2 separate regions of the Homo sapiens genome follow, and region 2 is linked to region 1. The links are contacts of gene promoters, found by promoter capture Hi-C in human tissues and cell types (Jung and others, 2019). All regions are on one chromosome and are shown on one strand. Each heading gives the region's core, a stretch centred on a gene start or on the middle of the fragment in contact. The rest is flanking DNA. Distances are from core to core; before and after follow the strand shown.

Region 1 (2,987 bases), core at 255-2,754:
TCTTCCCCAGGCCACCCTGGGAGCCTCTCCCGCTGCTGGAGCCCCCACCCCTCCTGGGGTCCAGGTGCCCCCACACCCAGTAGGCCCCGTAGCGCCGGCCACACACCGACCTCCACCTCGCTGGATGAGCTGGAAGATGGCGATGGGAGGCCGGTCGGCCAGCTCCTGCCCGGGGCCCGCCAGCGCCTCTTTGACCGCCTCGAACCCCGTCAGCACCACCGTCTTCTGGCGCCCCAGGTGCACGGTGAACACCGGCCCGTAGCGTTCTGAGAGCTGGCAGGGATGGCGGGGGTCACCCGGGCAGCCCTCACCCACAAGACCCCCCTTAGGTCCCCTCAGGCCGGGCCTGTGCTGGGTAGGGGTGGGGACAGAGGGAAAATGGGGGCAGGTGGAGGGGGCACGCCTAGATGCCATAAAGCCAGTGGTGCAGGGTGGAGGGGGCAGCGCCCAGCCTGGAGCCCACAGAGCCCTCTCGCCATCTGGTGCTTGGCATGGCTGTTGTGGGATTTTCTTTTTAGCCAAAATTCCTGGGGGGCTCAAGCCCTGAGTCCAGGCGGCAAGGTCGGGGGCTGGCTGTCTGCTGGGGTGGCACATTCTGAAAGGCCAGAGTCTGCACAGAGTGAGGGCCTGACAGGCTCGGCCCCCAGAGACCCTGATCCGTCTTCGGCTACAGCCCGGCCAGCAGCACCCCAGCCCGCAGTTGGGGGCAGCCGGAGGCAGGGCCCGGGCCTGACTGGTCAGCCCTGTCCCACTGACCCTGCCTGCCTGAGCGAGGACAGAGCGACAGTGCTAGTCAGGCTGCCCCGTGCCGTGTCCCCGTACCCTCTGTCCTCAGCATCCCTGCCCAGGAGGCACAGGTCCTCTTCCCATTTCACAGATGAGGAAACAGAGGCTCAAAAGTGGGAAGTGTTTGCTGTTGAACACCTGAGGGCCGAGGGGGGCTGAGCAGGCAGCCGACAGGCCCAGGCCCTCCTCCCCTCTGCTGTCCCTAAGCCTGGCCTCCTGCGGGCTCTCAGCAGACGCCACCGCCTCCAGGGAGCCCTCCAGACTCCTGCTCCCGCGCCGGGCCCTGGGTGGCACCTCCAGGGCTTCTTCGTACTCAGTGTGTCTGCTTCCCTGTGGGACGGGGTGGCTTTCCCCTCCCAAAAGCAGGGTGGGCCCTCCGGCCTCCTGCGTGCCCCGCTGGGCCCGGCACCATGTGGGAACAGGCAGTGGAAACCGGGCTGGGCTTCCCCAGGAGGGGGGCCAGGACACGGCAGCTGTCCAAGCGGCAAGAGCTGCCCGGGCTCCCTGACTTACCTCCATCAGGGACCGGTCCTGTTGCGACAGACGCAGCAAGTGCAGGTTCCCGACGAGCGGCAGCGGGCGAGGCCCCGGGGGCCACCGGGCAGCTGGGGAGGGGTCTTGGGCGCAGGCGCAGAGCAGCCCCCAGAGCCCCAGGAGGCCCAGGAACAGCAAGAGCAGCAGGGCCATGAGGACGTGGCTGGTGAGGCTCCACTCCCCTCCTGGGCCCCGTCCCCCCCGCACCCTTATAGGCCTCCGCGGGAGGGCGTGCCCGCACCCCACCCACCCCACCACCCCGAGAATGTGGAACGAGCAGTTTGCAGGGCAGCCCCCAGCGGATGGCTTAAAGCTGCAGGCCTGCGTGGAATGTGGGGCTGAGGCCCTGGTGGGGCCGGGGAGGGGAGGGCAGGACGGGGGCCCTCTGGGGTCAGGCATCCATGTCTCCTGGCCAGAGAGAAGGATGTGGCACGTGGACTGTTCTGCCCCTGGTTCTGCTGAACCTGCCAGTCCAGGCCCCTTGGCCTTGGCCACCCCTCAGAACTGGGATTCACAGGGCTTTGGGGCCGAGGCCCTGGCTTGGAGGGGAGCCCCCTGCCTTTCACAGGCTCTGAGTGGGACCCTGTGGAGCTCAGGGTTTGCAGGCCTCTCCCAAACCCCATCCGTGTGCACCCAGCTCTTCTCTGATCAGCTCCCCACGGGGCAAGGGACAGGAGTGAGACCTCAGGGAGGCCCATGAGGGGACTCAAATCCCACAGTCCTCACAGGCCACCACCTGCATCTCCCTGAGGGTGTTCTCGCCCCAGGTAGCAGCCTGCTCCTTTTCGAGGGCTGCCGCCCGGGCAGGGGATGCAACCCTCTGAGCTAGGACAGGAACATGGAAGGGCTGCCGGGTGGCAGGTGGCGGGGTTTACGAGCCCTGTCCATCTGTCTCCTAAACCGCTGTGAGGGGTGGGAGGGCTGCTGGCAGCAGAAGCGGCCGGGCCTGCTTTGCACAGCCTGCCCTGACATGAGGCAGCTGGAGCTGGTGCCAGCAGGCGGGACCCTCCCCACAGCCTGTCTCTGGGGCGTTGCCCATGCCCTGTACGAACCGCAGAGCCGAGGCAGCCTGAGGCCCTCACCCCTCCCGGGTTGGTCCCCCTTGATTAGCTGGGAGGGAAAGCCCCAGGCACAGTTGCACGCCTCCTGTGGTGGGGAGCTCACTACCTCTATCCTGCTGTACAGCCTCAGGGCCAGGGCTGGGCGGCTGCGGCGGGGAGGGAGTGCCTCATACCAGGGCCACTACTGGGTAGGCTGGGGGTCCTACCTGCCTAGCAAAGCTTACTTAATTAATTCAGGGAATACTTTTGATTTTTGTGTGTTTTGTTTTTGAGACAGGGTCTTGCTCTGTTGCCCAGGCTGGATTACCGTGCTGTGAGTACAGGCTCACTGCAGCCTCCACCTCCGGGGCTCAAGCCATCCTCCCACCTCAGCCTCCCAAATAGCTGGGACTACAGGCATGCACCACCCAGCCTAGCTAACTTTATTTATTTATTTATGTAGAAATGGAGGTCCTGCTACGTTGCTCAGGCTGGTCTCACACTCCTGGGTTCAAGCAATCCTCCTGCCTCGACCTCCCAAAGTGTTGGGATTGCAGGTGTAAGCCACTGCACCTGGCCTAATTTTTTAAGTTTTGGGTTTTTGTTGTTTTTGAGACGGAATCTCAC
Region 2 (3,044 bases), core at 439-2,938, 370 kb after region 1:
TTGAATCTGTCATTCTGCGCATCCTGTCGTATATGCTGCTGAGTGTTTTGTGTAGACAGTCCTGAGTGGCTGAGGTTGGGCAGATGTAGCCAGACTATGGACAGAGGCTTCCTGTGAGTCCGAAGAAGTGCCCAGCCCTGCGTTGGCCTGTCCTGGTCGGGCGTGCGGGGCGTGGAGTCTGCAGGCGTCTGTCATCTGGGCCTGGCTCCCCTCCCCTCTGTGGGCGCCACGCCTCCCGCCCTCCATGCTGACCTGAACCTCACAGTCCGGTTCCCTGGGTGGTGGACGAGTCCTTGGGTGTCTCCCACCCGCTTGGTGGCAGCCCTGCTTGCCCCTGCGGGGACCTCCCAGCACTGCACCCTCTTGGCTCCGCAGGCTTCCCTGTCCTGGGGCCGGGAGAGGTCTCTGCAGGCTGGGGAGGGGTTTCTGGAAACATTCTCAGGTGAGCTTTCCCGTGCAAGTCCCAACCTGCGCTTGTCTTGGCTCGGGAGGCCCGGAGCGGCGGGAGGAGGAAGGAAGTGGCATTTCTAGGAGCTGATGGTGTTTTCCAGGTGGGCCTGGTCGTGGCTTTTTCACCCTCGGTGTACCGTGTTGGTCGGTGGGCCCTCGTAGTGGGAGCTGGACCTGTCTCTGCAGGTATTGGAGCAGATTCACAGTGCGGAACGATGGGCTGAGTTACTCACGTTCAACCCCGCGTGTGTGATTTCAGGGGCTGAGCTTGGCGCGCCATCTCCTTGCCTTTTGAAGGCGAGTTTGGCTGTGAACGGAGCTGCTGGTTCTGATCCCGTACGCTTCCTCAGACGTTGTGGGCTTGGAGTCTGTGCCACACTCAGAAAAGCACATTTTTGTGTTTTAAAGTCTACATTTTGCCTCTTTTGGTTGCTTTAAAAATGTTAAGAGCCTTAAGTCTGCCCTTAAGCGTACGTGTCGTGTTTTCTCCAATGATGAACGGCCTCATTTTTAAAATTACACAGATTTACAATGTAATTATAGAAAATTAGAAAATACACGTCAGTACAAGTAATCAAAAAAAAAAAAACAAAAGAAAAAGAAAAAAACACATGAAAATGACCCCAACCCCACCCCCTCTCCACCCCACAGTTGCTATTAGCCTTACGGTGCATAGCCTCTAGGTTATTTACTTTATGGTTGTGTTTTTAAATTGTACAGTTTCATCGACACCCTATTTTCACTGGCAACACTGTGAACACCTTTATTCCTTGTTACATGTATCTACACCACCATTTTTAATGACCACACGGTGTTAGGTTGTTGAGAAGGACTGTGATTTATTTAATAAAGCCTGTATTGCTGACAGTGCTTCGGTGAATATTATTACACACACACATCTTTTCATTGTCGTTTATTTAATAAAGCCTCTGTTGCTGACAGTGCTTCGGTGAATATTATTACACACACACATCTTTTCAGTGTCGTTTATTTAATAAAGCCTCTGTTGCTGGCAGTGCTTCGGTGAATATTATTACAATATTTTTACATCTTTTCATAGTCATCCCGTTGTTTCTTCAAGTTCCTAAATGTGGAACTGAGGGTCCCAAGGGTGGCCACTCCAGCAGCTTTTGATATTTGTTGCAATGCCCTTAAAGAGGCAGTGCCATCCTTCCATTCATCCTTCCAGGCATCCGTTTTTTCATTCACTTTTCCCTTCCTTCCTCTCCTCTAATAGCCACCCATCCATCATCTGTCGGTCCATCCACCTGTCCATCCATCCATCTATCCATCCACCCACCCACTTGTTCATCCACCCAGCTGTCCATCCATCCATCTATCATCCATCCTTACATCCATCCATCCATCCATCCACTAATCTACTCAAATCTACTCACACACCTGTTCATCCACCCACCTGTCCATCCATCCATCTATCCATCCACCCACCCACTTGTACATCCACCCACCTGTCCATCCATCCATCCATTAATCTACTCAAATCTACTCACACACCTGTTCATCCACCCACCTGTCCGTCCATCCATCTATCCATCCATCCATCCGTTGATCTACTCACCCACCTGTTCATCCACCCACCTGTCCATCTATCCATCCATCCATCCGTTGATCTACTCACCCACCTGTACATCCACCCACCTGTCCATCCATCCATCATCCATCCTTACATCCATCCATCCATCCATTAATCTACTCAAATCTACTCACACACCTGTTCATCCACCCACCTGTCCGTCCATCCATCCATCCATCCATCCATCCGTTATTCTACTCACCCACCTATTCATCCACCCACCTGTCCGTCCATCCATCTGTCCATCCATCCATCCATCCATCCGTTGATCTACTCACCCACCTGTTCATCCACCCACCTGTCCATCCATCCATCCATCCGTTGATCTACTCACCCACCTGTTCATCCACCCACCTGTCCATCCATCCATCGATTCATCTACTCACCCATTTGTCCATCCATCCATCCGCTCACCCACCTGTTCAATCCACCCGCCTGTCCATCCATCCATCCATCCATCCATCCATTCATTCGTCTACTCACCCACCTGTACATCCATGTGTCCATTCACTCATCCGTTCATCCACCCACCCATCCAACCATCCATATTGTGCTGAGGAGCTTCTGCGTCAGACCCGGGCTGGGCACTAGAGCCTGCAAGGAACATGTGGTCTCCATCTGAGAGCTCAGTCAGCTGTGGGAGGCGGAAGCCATCCGTGGAGTGAGAAGCACAGGAACTGAGGTGTTGCAGGAGGGGGAGGCATCAGGATCGGGAGTGGTGTGGGCGGGGGCTTTCAAAAGGTTTGTGATCTCTGAGCCACAGGCCAGGTAGGACTGGAACCCGGGACAGGCCGTTTCCTGGAAACTGTCCTGACCCAGCACCACTGGCCAGCCCTGACCCAAATAGCAGGGGCTCCTTACTGGACGCCTGCCCAGAGAGAGCTGGGGGTGGCCGTCCCAGACGCTCAGGCCCTCAATCCCCAGCTTAGAGACCAGTCCAGGGCACAGATGGAGAGAGAGACAGAGAGAGGGAGGGGTGGACGAGAGGGAGGCACATGCT

The links. The method cuts DNA at HindIII sites, captures the fragments that hold promoters and counts their contacts. A contact is called where the count stands out against the background at its distance.
Region 2: a contact is called between a fragment that was not itself captured here and the fragment with the promoter of CYP2W1 in region 1, in 1 of the 25 tissues and cell types used here (lymphoblastoid cells).

What each region holds. Positions count from the first base shown.
Region 1 is chr7:981,698-984,684 of GRCh38, reverse strand. CYP2W1 (cytochrome P450 family 2 subfamily W member 1) reads right to left here and starts at 1,504. Exons shown (of 9, transcript NM_017781.3): 1 at 1,300-1,504; 2 at 111-273. The coding sequence starts at 1,473. It also overlaps a transcript of CHLSN not described here. The HindIII fragment of the contact is 22,766 bases long and covers 1-2,987 here.
Region 2 is chr7:611,237-614,280 of GRCh38, reverse strand. All of the region lies in intron 4 of PRKAR1B (protein kinase cAMP-dependent type I regulatory subunit beta), which reads left to right. LOC105375119 (a long non-coding RNA gene) reads left to right here. Exons shown (of 2, transcript XR_007060176.1): 1 at 1-442; 2 at 710-1,320. Among named protein-coding and RNA genes, the nearest start is that of PRKAR1B-AS1, 9.9 kb to the right of the region's middle. RefSeq lists enhancers at 1-335, 336-836. The HindIII fragment of the contact is 9,856 bases long and covers 1-3,044 here.